Linked DNA regions of Homo sapiens: region 2 is linked to region 1. The links are contacts of gene promoters, found by promoter capture Hi-C in blood cells and fetal thymus (Javierre and others, 2016). All regions are on one chromosome and are shown on one strand. Each heading gives the region's core, a stretch centred on a gene start or on the middle of the fragment in contact. The rest is flanking DNA. Distances are from core to core; before and after follow the strand shown. Region 1 holds the start of LINC02210 (long intergenic non-protein coding RNA 2210). Region 2 holds the start of LOC124904014 (a long non-coding RNA gene).

What was found. The method cuts DNA at HindIII sites, captures the fragments that hold promoters and counts their contacts. A CHiCAGO score of 5 or more calls a contact.
Region 2: a contact is called between a fragment that was not itself captured here and the fragment with the promoter of LINC02210 in region 1, in 3 of 17 cell types (M1 macrophages, erythroblasts and monocytes). The highest score is 7.3, in M1 macrophages.

Annotation. Positions count from the first base shown.
Region 1 is chr17:45,617,871-45,624,236 of GRCh38, forward strand. LINC02210 (long intergenic non-protein coding RNA 2210) reads left to right here and starts at 2,459. Exons shown (of 6, transcript NR_138260.1): 1 at 2,459-2,502; 2 at 4,038-4,171. LINC02210-CRHR1 (LINC02210-CRHR1 readthrough) reads left to right here and starts at 2,476. Exons shown (of 15, transcript NM_001256299.3): 1 at 2,476-2,502; 2 at 4,038-4,171. RefSeq lists an enhancer at 613-1,592. The HindIII fragment of the contact is 33,843 bases long and covers 1-6,366 here.
Region 2 is chr17:46,270,974-46,277,339 of GRCh38, forward strand. LOC124904014 (a long non-coding RNA gene) reads left to right here and starts at 3,043. Exons shown (of 3, transcript XR_007065823.1): 1 at 3,043-3,118; 2 at 6,336-6,366. It also overlaps a transcript of LRRC37A not described here and a transcript of ARL17B not described here. The HindIII fragment of the contact is 238 bases long and covers 1,132-1,369 here.

The DNA of each region.
Region 1 (6,366 bases), core at 1,209-3,708:
CATGCACCATCATGCCCAGCTAATTTTTGTGTGTGTGTTTTTGTAGAGACGAGGTCTCGCCCTGTTGCCCAGGCTGGTCTCGAACTCCTGGCTTCAAGTGATTCACCTGCCTCAGCCTCTCAAAGTGCTGCGATTACAGTCATGAGCCGCCTCACCCCGCCAGTCAGGCTCTTAAAAAATCCATCACACAGGCCGGGCGCCATGGCTCATGCCTGTAATCCCAGCACTTGGGAGGCCAAGTCGGGCGGATCACGAGGTCAGGAGATTGAGACCATCCTGGCTAACACGGTGAAACCCCGTATCTACTAAAAATAACAAAAAATTAGTCGGGCATGCTGGCGGACGCCTGTAGTCCCAGCTACTCAGGAGGCTGAGACAGGAGAATGGCGTGAACCCGGAAGGCGGAGCTTGCAGTGAGCTGAGATAGTGCCACTGCACTCCAGCCTGGGAGACAGAGCGAGACTGTGTCTCAAAAAAAAGAGAAAAGAAAAAAAATCCATCATATGTATTCACTAATTTAATCTTCACAACAACTCTAAAGGGTAGGAACTATTTTTTTTGCCCCATTTTACAGATATGAAATGAGAGGCTGTGTTGAAGGTGTTTTCTGGGGTTGATTTAAATAGAATTAATAAACTCAGAAAAAAGATTCTTAATCGATAAAGGTGGTTTTTTTTTTTTTTTTTTTTGGTTTTTTTTTTTTTTTTTTGAGTCGGAGTCTCACTCTGTCATCCAGGCTGGAGTGCAGTGGCGTGATATCGGCTCACTGGAACCTCTGACTCCCTGGTTCAAGCAATTCTCCTGCCTCAGCCTCCCGAGTAGCTGGGATTACAGGCATGCGCCACCATGCCCGTGGTTTCACCATGTTGGCCAGGATGGTCTTGATCTCCTGACCTTGTGATCCGCCCACCTTGGCCTCCCAAAATGCTGGGATTACAGGCGTGAGCCACCGTGCCCGGCCTTGGCTTTCATTCTTATTGTCCCATGGTTACCAGAGCCTAAAGAGGTAAAGAGGTAAGACCTATGAGGCTCTCACAGTTTTTTTTTTTTTTTTTTTTTTTTGAAACAGGGTCTCGCTCTGTCGCCCAGGCTGGAGTGCAGTGGCGCGATCTTGGCTCACTGCAGCCTCCGCCTCCCGGTTCAAGCAATTCTCCCACCTCAGCCTTTCCAGTAGCTGGGATTACAGAGGCGCGCCACCACGCTTGGCTAATTTTTTTTTTGCATTTCTATTAGAGATCGGGTTTCACCATGCTGCGCAGGCTGGTCTCGAACTCCTGACCTCAGGTGATCCACCCACCTTGGCCTCCCAAAGTGCTGGGATTACAGGTGTGAGCCACCGTGCCCGGCCTCTCTCATAGTTTTATTATTCTATTTTCCACAGACCCTTCCTCCCTTAATTTTCATGCCTCTTTAATATTGTTTCTTTTACCTCACTGACATTCTTTTTCGTCCTCCTACCTTTTACTGTGGGTGTCTTATTACCCTTCTTTGGGAGTTTATCCTTTAGCATGTCATAGATCACTATCTTTAGGCAGAGGACCCTGCATCTTCTCTAGTCCTGATTGTCTACCCTTTCTCAAGTTCCATAACTTCAGTTGCCTCTGGGACACCTTCACTGGGTTTTACAAAACCCTGTTACCGGGAACTGAACATATTAAAAGCTAAGATTCCTCCCCAAATCTGCATGTTGCGCCAATTTTCCTGCCCAATTATCTTGTCTGTCCCCTGGTTTTGCGACCTTATTTAAACATTTAAATCCTTTTCTTTAAATTGGAATCTTGATGAGTGGTGCAAAAATCAATGGATACAAATGATATGCCGAGATATGTAAGTCTTCCGCCCACTGGTTCCCTAGGCACTCAGTTCCTCTCCCAGGAGGTAACCACTGTTGCCAGCTCTTAGAGTGATTTTTGATTCCTTCTTCTACCGGCTCTATCTCAAGTCCTTCCCTGTCTGTGAGATGTGTGCCCTTTCCTTTCCAGGCCCTAGTGAACTGATATCTGGTTGAGTTTATATATAAACATTTATATGTGTATATTTTATATACATATATAACATCTCTCCCTATGGCCTTCCGGCCTGGAGTTTTCATCACGTCGCTTCCTGGATGAAAGAATCTCGAGGGGTGAGGGGCAGGGGTTGGGGGTGATGGAGAAGAGAACCTAAAGGGGACTTAGGTAGGGGGTTCAGAGTTGCCAACTGGCGTGACGCTCTGTCAGGATTCCTATTCCTATTCCTCCCACCTCAGGCCCCCTTCTAGTCCTCTCAGCCAAAAGCCTCTCGTTTCCAAGGGCTGAGACAGAGACAGAGACAACGAGATGCACAGAGACAGAGACGCCAAGGCACCTGCATCCCTCTTCCCCTTCTGTCCCGCCCCATCGCTCTGACGGACACCATTGCTCAGCCAATGGCGCTCACGATGTGCCCCTGAAGGGCCAATGAGCGCCAGAGGAGGGCGGAAGATTCCCCGCCCCCACTTCTAGGCTTGGTTGAACCGTGCAGGTAGGTCCGGGGCTGGGGGAGCTGCCTTTGGCACTGGTGCCCCTGGGGGTGGGGGCACGAGTGGGCCAGGGTGATGGTGAGGTAGAGGAGGTGTCCCTGACCCGACGAGCTCGAGGGAGCGGCCTGGCTGGGAGGCGGGGGGCCGCGGGGCCCGGGGAGCGGGCGCCGCCGAGGGCCCTGGAAGCGGCGGGGCTGGGGGAGAGGGGACGCGTGTGTGGGGCACGGGGACGCCCGCCCAGCGCCCACTCGTAGGCCTGGGACGCGGGCTGCCGGCCGAGTGGCCTGAGGGCCTGGCTGCCCGGGGGGCGGGCCGGGGCCGCGGCCGGGGGCGCGGAGCGGAGCTCGGGGCGCCAGGCCGAGCCGAGGTGGGACGGACCGACGCGGAGAGGAAGGGAAGCCGCATCCCGCGGGGCGCCCCTCCTGAAGCGAGCCGGGCAGCGGCCGCGGGCGCCCCTGCCCTGAGCCCACCCCGCGCTCTGCCCTCCCTAACAATGGGAATGGGGCAGAAGGAGGCGCCCCACTGCGGGGAGGTGAGGGGTGGGTTTGGGACTGGGGTCCGCGGTGGGGGGAGGTGCGATCTCGGGCTCTCGCCTCTCCGCTCCCTCTGGCTCTGGAGTTGGGGGCCCCTGTGGGGCTCTGAAGTCCGCCTGAGACTTGGGTCAAGAGTCAAACTGTCGCCCCCCGCTCCTCCCCCAAAATCCGGTGAGCGGTAAGGAAAGTGATGCCAAGTCTTCGAAGCCTCAGTGACAAACGCATAGCAAGAACACATCCACTCCAGAGGTGTTTATTTTTTATTTTTATTTAAAAAGGGGTACTTTTCGACATTTATTTTTAAGAAGTGGGTGCTGTTATTTTTGTCCCTACGCGGGCAAGCCTCCATTTTAAGCGAAGCAGTAACTGGTTAAGCTGGAATTGTATACAGGCCCAGGACTTGAACGAGGATCCTACCAGAGGTCATTTAGTCCATCCTCCTGCCTCCAGGCAAATTTACCTTCCTCCCACCCTCAAAATTAAGTTGCTCGGTCTGCTTTTAACGATCTCTGGGGAAGAAGGGTCCTTTATTTGTTTCTAGTACTTCAGTCAAGAATAGGTTTTACTTTTCATGTGGAATTGACTCTGAAACTTAAGCATAATCTTGGGACAGTCGGGATGATTAGAGAAGTTTTACTTTACTAAATATAATTAAATGTGGCAAGGGTCTTTTTTAGACGGTTAATTAACAAATCACGTTTAGTGTTTATGAAGTACCCTGGAAAATTACTTTATTCTCTCTGGGATTTTGGCTAATTGTTTGATAAGCAATTTTACATTATCTAAAATACGTGTTACATATTTATTTCTCTTTTTATGTAAAGTATGTTTCTACACACATATATATGGAGACACACATTTGCCCTTTTCTAAAGGGGACTGTATTTTCTATACTTTTTTAGTGCGATGAGGCAAATAGTACTTCAAAATCCCTGCCCAGGTAGCTTAAACTATTTGCATTGTCTTGATTATTTTTTAGTCTAAATGAAAATCCTCTCTTTCAGATACCTTCTCGAAACAAAAGATTTTCCTACCTGCTTATACTTGGTAACCGAGGGAATTTCTAAGACTTCTTGCTCATTTCTGAGTATTGTCTTTATATCCTGACACTATGAATGCTACTTGGATGCCTCTTAAGGTAAGATGTGTTATTTTTTCATTACCAGCCTCATTTTATTCATTTTTCTTTAGAATTGGGAATATTGTAGTTTTTGAATTTGCTATTCTTCACTTCCTTTACCTGCCATTTCTCTTGCCTCTTGTGTTTGCTTCCTAGGATTGATTGGCTATATCTTACTTTGTATCTCTACTGTTCTTTGATTATCGGTGTGAATGTTTTAATGAAGTTCTCAAATTAACTTCCATTATAATGAAAGGCAGTGATCTTTTTAACTTTAAATTATGGCAACTTACATAGTTGTAAAATTATGTTCCGGTCTTAGGATGGGTTGGCAATTCAAACATCTAGGTCCACTTTTCAAACAGGTACTTTAGAGTCATAGGTACTAGGGTGTGTCCCACTCTTGCAAATCAGTAGCTGATTCACGTGTTACAAAAGATGTGTCATTAACCATTTGTTTACTCTGAAACTTCATATAGTATATTAGGGCATTCTAAGACCTGCTGGTTTACACGTATGACTCTTTCAGAGTCCTCCTGCTGCACCCCAGTCCTTTGTGTGACATTTCATACTATTTTTCTCAGCAGGTAGCACTTACACCAAGTTTTATTTCACAGGGTAAACCTCATTTGGACAGTGTGGACAGATGACCTTTAGATGAAAAAGCTCCCATTGATGTGGTTCTCCAGTCTCTTTGGCTCCTCTAATCTCTTGTACATAGATGGCCAAAGAACTCTCCATTAGGACTAAGCAAAGGGCAGAGCTTAAGACTTAAGTAGGTGGCTTCTTTGATTTTCTTGTGACTAAAAATACATTAAAAAATAAAATTAAATAAAAACAAACAGAAAAGACGTAAGGAGGGGATGGGAGGAAGGACAGAGAAGGATAAGGAGTCTTGGAAACCCTCCACCAGCTTCGCCTTTCTTCAGAGTTGGATACTAGCTTAGTTAAGATTGTTGGGTGCTAATCTGCTCTGTGGACTTCCAGATTGATGCAGAGGAGAAATCAGACAATAGTGCAGTGTGTGTAACCTATATATCTGGACTTGTGGGAAATCTTAGGTCATGTAGGCTGAGTTCTCATCTTCATTTATGTTTCAGCTGCTATTGCTGGATAAGAGTGCTTATATTAATATACAGGAAGCCAAAGTGACACAGTTTTTCCAGCATTCTCCCTGTAGAGTTGGAGGGGTTGCATGGGGAATGCAACCAGAAGTTCTGAACCCGTTAAGAATCAGAGGACCTGTGTAAGAGTGTTTCGACTTAGCAAGTGTTGAGCACCAGTGTTGGTGGCCTCTGTCCTCTTTAGGAAGCAGGCAAGGGGATTGAGATCAATACATTGGATTTCATTTTATAGTTTCCTAGGTTTTAACGAATGTATTTGGTACACAAAGCCCTACTTTTAAAGCTATTTCCAGTGTTTAAGGTTTTACCTCTAAATCTCTCTGAACCTGGGTTGTAATACAGTAACCTCAGAAGTTCTACTAGAGGTCTCTGGCATGGCAGGAATAGAGAAAGGAAATCAGCTCCATATCGTGAGTTACCACCTGTTACTACTTAAGAATGCAGTTAGGTGGTTGCCTTAATATTATGTTCCTTACCAATCCTTTGCTCAGTGGGAAACATCTTCTAAGTGTAAACCAATTTTTGGGGGTAATGTTTTCTTCCTATTTTTATTACTTAGAAACCTTAAAAATTACAGTGTTCGTCTGGTCAGAAAAAAAGGTCCTTTTTGCGGGGAGGATAGCATTGAGTTTGTGGGCTGGAAAATAGAAGTGGGGAGAGGGAACTTTATTCTCTTTTTCATTGGTGAATATCCTTAAAACATTTCTAAGATGTAGTTTCAGATTGGAGCTACTTAATTTAAGTAAAAAGAAATGATAGGTTAATTAAAGTGCATATTTTGGAGCCCAAATGTTTATTTTATATAGATCTTATATTTTGTTTCCAATTATCTTATTGTAGAATGAACTCTGTCGTTCTGTCAGGCATTGCGTAAATGTTAGACTGAGTATGTGCTTGTTTCCATGCGTATAGAAAATAGCGTCACACTCACTCAGTCTTCACAAATGAAAATGCCAGAGGAGGCAAGTAACAAGGAAGAATAACTCCAAACCAAAACTCCTCAATTTAAGGCACTCTCGTTAATTAGAAGTTCTCATGGAAATTATTATTTATCCCTTTTTCTCTGTGTTAGGGGTCTGTACCTTTTTA
Region 2 (6,366 bases), core at 1-2,500, 650 kb after region 1:
AATCTTCTAAGAAAAGTCTTTTAGTATCTCACTCCAAGTATCTAGAAATACCTTAGAATGTTTCAAATTATTAAAAATACTTCTCGGTTGGCTCTTCCCTCCACCTCCTCAAGTACTTCATTATTTTATCCATGGAATATCCCCATTCTCACATTAAGGGCAAGAAATCTGAGACCTATGGTAATAGTTTCTTTTTTTTTTTTTTTTTTGAGAAGGAGTTTCGCTCTTGTTGCCTAGGCTGGAGTGTAATGGCATGATGTCAGCTCACCGCAACCTCTCCCTCCTGGGTTCAAGTGATTCTCCTGCTCTAGCCTCCCAAGTAGCTGGGATTACAGGCATGCGCCACTTTACCTAGCTAATTTTTTTTTTTTTTTTTTTTTGTATTTTTAGTAGAGATGGGGTTTCTCCATGTTTGTCAGGCTGGTTTCAAACTCCCAACCTCAGGTGATCCACCTGCCTTGGCCTCCCAAAGTGCTGGGATTATACGTGTGAGCCACCACGCCCAGCCGTATCATGATAGTTTCAATCAGGAAGAGTGAAAGCTGTAATAACCATGTAACTTTGTCTAACTAAGTGTGCAGAGATCTGAAAGTCCACCAGGTTGGCTCTTTAACATAAAGAAGTAGAGAGTTTGCCTAAAGGAATTAGCAGAAATAGGGAAATAACTTTTATTTGCAGATCCCAGGAAGGTAGATTACAAACAACAGCAAATCTTAGTGTCTCTAAATAACACTCTAGGCCATTTGGAATATAAAAAGGTAATTATTTTACTTCAGAAAATATCTCCAAAAGTTCACTTTTTTTTTGAGACAGAGTCTTGCTGTGTCGCTCAGGCTGGAGTGCAGTGGCACAATCTCAGCTCACTACAACCTCTGCCTCCCCAGTTCAAGCCATCCTCCCACCTCAGCCTCCTGAGTAGCTGGGACTACAGGTGTGTGCCACTTGTCCAGCTAAATTGTTGTATTTTTAGTAGAAACAGGGTTTCACCATGTTGGTCAGGCAGGTCTCTAACTCCTGACCTTGTGATCTGCCCGCTTCAGCCTCCCAGAGTGCTGGGATTATAGGCGTGAGCCACCATGCCCAGCCACAATTTTATTTAAACCTCCTGTAGAATTTGGATAGGAGAATAAAAGCTTTACCAATAGGAAAATACTTTTCATGAAATGGTTTCAAGGATTGTGAACTTGGCAGGTGAAGCATAACAGTTATTGAAAATACTTTTAGCCAAGGAAATCTACTGATGCAAATTAAATATATTTACAAGCCCAAGGCCTGTGGTAGAAACATCCTAAGAGTATCACAAATGTACAGTTTACTGCCTGGATTATTGAAAGCAAAATAGCTGTGTTATATAGATCTTAATAGCAGAAGCTTTCAAAGATTACTCACAGAAAAGCAGCTTTCAGAACTCATTATGTTCTAAAAAATGTATGTTTTTCTTTCTTTTTTATTTTTTTTGAGATGAAGTCTCACTCTTGTCCCCCAGGCTGGAGTGCAATGGCGTGATCACGGCTCACTGCAACCTCCGCCTCCCAGGTTCAAGTGATTCTCCTGCCTCAGCCTCCCTAGTAGCTGGGATTTCAGGTGCCTGCCACCATGCCTGGCTAATTTTTGTACTTTTAGTAGAGATGGGGTTTCACCATGTTGGCCAGGTTGGTCTCAAATTCCTGACCTCAGGTGATCCCCCCTGCCTCGGCCTCCCAAAGTGCTGGGGTTACAGGCGTGGGCCACCACACCTGGCCAGGAATGTGTGTTTTTCAAAAATTACTTTTGAAAGACTAAAGCCCTATAGTTGATAAAACTATAAAATGTCTTTATGTATTTGTATGGTGATAGAAACTGTAAAACACTTTATACCATTAAATACACATGAAATTAATATCTTCCTGGTCTCAGGATTTCCATAAAATTTACCCTTTTTAATTTGGCAATGCTAACAGCTACAGAAGACATATTACCACCAACCAACCGTTGCTTCATTAGAAACTGCACCAAATCCAATGTCAAAAACATTACTTTATTTTTCTAGTATGAAATGTCCTATTACATACAAAAGAATTGCTGTTTAGAATTTGCCACAATTTGTTGAAAACATAGCAATCTATTGCCTACAGGTAGGAAAGTTCTTGCTGCAACAAATTTTAAATGATTAAGCCCATATATATTTCTATATATATGAATAAATAGTGCAGAAATACTGTGACGTGATGAGATGCAGAATAATTTTATAATTCATTAAAATGTAGAATTCTTGCATCAGCACAGTGCATACAATATGTAACTTTTTTTAAAAAGTAAAAGGACAAAATAATCCATATTTAAGTATTTCCATCTTAATATTTTAAGCAAAAATGTTTTCATGTTTTCATATTGAGTGATTAGTCTCTTTAGTTTGTAAACATAGGTTTAAGTGACATCTTCATGTACAAAAAGGAATGGGCTTCATTAGATAAAATTAAGCCAGAATAACCTGTACACCTGAGCCTGTAATAAGAAAGAATTGGGAACTGTAGCAACATCTTTCTTTTAAGAAACCAAGGTCTGGGAAAGGTTTTGCATAGCAGGGAAACGTTGAAAGGAAGGAAACTTTTAAAAGCAATAATTAGATAAATTCCAGAAGTTGATAGGACAAAGCTAATATGAGTTAGAATAAAATCTAGTAGAATTTTTGCAAAGCTGCATAATCCAGCTATGGCAGATTTTATAGAAGCTATTACCACAATGCAGTAATACAATGTGTAAGAACATTGAAAGGAAGAACATGCAAAATACATCTTCCTCATTTTCTTCCTACTGCTTACACTACTTTTCCTTACATGGAAGAAACAAACAAACCAACAAGCAAAAAACAAACCCAATCAACAAATAACACAGAGGATGAGATCATCTAACAAAAAATGTCCTTCATACAATATAAGTAGCTGTCTGTAATTGGTAATTTGCCCAGTATCACAGAATGTACAGATGAAGGCAATGTGTATCTTGTCGCATTACCTTTTTCGTTAGTATGATCAACTGATGCGACAGGATTAGCACCCCTGAAGATTCTTCTCTGACGTGATGACAATTGACTGGGAATGATAAAACGAGGGGCCACTGCTGTCCAGGAGAATTCCAGGTACAATTAGATTCTTTTGCCTTTCATGACCTTGCAGCCCTCCCTCCCCACAGAGGCTTACAGATAATCATTAGCACACATTCAAAGACACCTCTGTCTGTGGGAGAAAAACTATCTCCATTTATTTTGTTTCACATACATCCATAGTTGAATTTTAATACAAAAAGAAAAATTAGAATCTGACAAATGTTTACAAAGAAGATACCTTCAAATAGATTTTACTCATTTCAACCTGGTGTGGAGTAATTGACAAATTGTACTGTTATATTCAAGTCACCAGAGTCTGTAGTCCAGGACCACTTAGCCCAACCTTTATGCAAGCTTGATTTTAATCTACCATGAACAATAAACTCATTGTTGATTCGCAGTTGTGTGTGTGTGCACATGTGTACATAGCAGCTCCTTTCATAGAAAGAAAAGACATCTAGAGGTTGTCTTGTACTTTTACGTACAGGAATCATTGATAAGATATGGATGGATTATATGTAACCGTGGCTGGATTTTATAAGAAAAAATAATTAGTTGACAAATGAGGGCAGCAATAAAAAAGCATCTTTTTTGCAACAATAAATAAATACAGTCAAAAGTTTTCTTTGAGACTCTAAACCAGCTTCTTCACTGAAGAGCAGACGTGGCATTTCCATGGAGTTATACTTGACCCCACAGTATCATTGTTTCTTGCTTTCTTTTTCTTTTTTTTTTTTAATAAACAAAATTTTCTCGCTTCTGCCACAATAATAAAACCATTTGATCTTGACAAGATAATGGTGTCGTTGACTTTTCTTTTTTCTTTTTCTTTTCTTCCTTTTTTTGTTTTTGAAACGGAGTTTTGTTCTTGTCACCCAGGCTGGAGTGCAATGGCTCAATCTCGGCTCAATACAACCTCTGCCTCCCGGGTTCCAGCGATTCTCCTGCCTCAGCCTCCCAAGTAGCTGGGATTACAGGCATAGGCCACCATGCACAGCTAATTTTGTATTTTTGGTAGAGACGGGGTTTCTCCATATTGGTCAGGCTGGTCTCGAACTCCCGACCTCAGATGATCCGCCCGCCTTGGCCTCCCAAAGTGCTGGGATTACAGGCGTGAGCCACCGCACCTGGCAACTTTGCTTTTTTCTTGTCCATTGGACAAAATTGGCCAATAATATAATTGGACTGTTATGACCAATAAAAACAAAGTTTAGGTCAAGTCTTGTCAGGATAGCCTCACTAAAAAGATCTGGCTCCTTAATTTAAAATAGTTCAGGCAACAAGATTCTTGCTGTGTTTTATGTTAGGTTAACATGCTGAACTTTAGGAAGCTGTAGACTGCAGTTTGTTGTTGTGAGACCTACAGAGTATAGAAAAAGGGAACAATTGAGCACCTTTCATTTTTGAAAATGATGCTTTATGCGGATGCCAAAGTAAATAAATCTGGAAGAAGCAGCCATGTTCTTTCATTCACCCTTGGCAAGCGAATAGAAAAGAACGATTAAGAAATTTTTAACCTATAATAATAAAACTTTTCACTGTACACTAAGCATAATAGCTCACTGGAAAAAGCCAATATTTAAAATATGTATGTATATATATTTGTCTAATAAAGATTACAACATTTTCAGGCAACTGGACAAATAGAGACATTTACAGAAGCATTACCATTGTGGTGAAAGGTGCGTGTGTGTGTGTATGTGTGTGTTTATTTACACGGATGAGGGGAATATAAAGGGAAAAATTATGCTAAAACAAAAGAAAAAGCAATTTTAAAATCATATTTTTCTATTAAAGTCCAGAAAGTCTCCCAGTTTCACACAGTTTTATTCACAATTTTTTTTTTTTTTGAGACGAAGTCTCGCTTTTGTCCCCAGGCTGTAGTGCAAAGGCGCGATCTTGGCTCACTGCAACCTCTGCCTCCCAGATTCAAGCGATTCTCCTGCCTCAGCCTCCCGAGTAGCTGGGATTACAGGTGCCTGCCACCACACCCGGCTAATTTTTGTACTTTTTGTAGAGACGAGGTTTCACCATGTTGGCCAGGCTGGTCGCAAACTCCTGACCTCAGGTGATCCGCCCGCCTCGGCCTCCCAAAGTGCTGGGATTACAAGTGTGAGCCACCAAGGCTGGCCTCACAACTTTTGTCAGTAAACCAAATTACTGTACAGTTACCAGGACTAAGTCAAAGGACTTTATATTGCAATAGCAGATAAATTTATATTGCAATAGCAGATAAATACAGTATTCCAATAGTTTACAATTTTTAAATACATTGTTTCACGTGGCTGCTAGAATAAATTTTTTACCACTATACATCGTTAACATTAAAAAATTATATTAGCTAACCTGACTTTTTGGGGGGCAATTTTGGATTACGTAATCACAAGGTACAATAAAACAGTGACCCCAACATCCAGTTCTGATTCCAGTTAAAAATTTAGACTAAAGATATCACAATCCGTAAGAAAAGAAAGAATATGGATGGTATAAATGATGAATTATAACAAAGTGCAGTAATGAAAACAATGTGCAAACAATGCTGGAGATCATAAATTACAATGGGAAAATATGGCAAAGGAAATTCTGGAAACCCATAATAAAATCAAGTTTCAATAACTGGCTAGTTATGTTTCATTCTACCTTAAATCTGGAAAGCAATAGAAATTCCCTAAAAATGCAACAGCAAGTTGTCTTTATACAATTCTTTGCATTGTAATTTTTTTCTTTTTTTCTTTTTTTTTTTTTTTTTGATTTGTTTGTTTTGAGACAGGGTCTCACTCTGTAGCCCAGTCTGGAGTGCAGTGGCACAATCATGGCTCACTGCAGCCTCAACCTCCAGGGCTCAGGTGATCCTCCTACCTCAGCCTCCTGGGTAGCTGGGACTACAGGCACGTGCCACCATGCTCAGCTAATTTTTTGTATTTTTTGTAGAGATGGGGTTTCCCCATGTTGCCCAGGCTGGTCTCAAACTCCTGGGCTCAAGTGAGCTGCCTGCCTTGGCTTCTCAAAGTGTTGAGATCACAGGTGTGAGCCACTGCACACAGCCTAATTTGTTTATTTAAGCAGAATTGAGCAAACGTCTCCATTCAGCTCCCATGTGCTTTATTGAAAATTATGTCAACTTCAGTATATTAAAAAGCTACATAAAATAACCAGGTGGCAAGAAGACATCCTAAGTGGCCCCTACACTATGCGGGCCCAGCCTAGGTCTCCTTTGCTCCTTTACCAAATTCCCTTTGTCTTGCCACAGGCCCCAGGACCTCCAAGCAACTTCCTCTCCT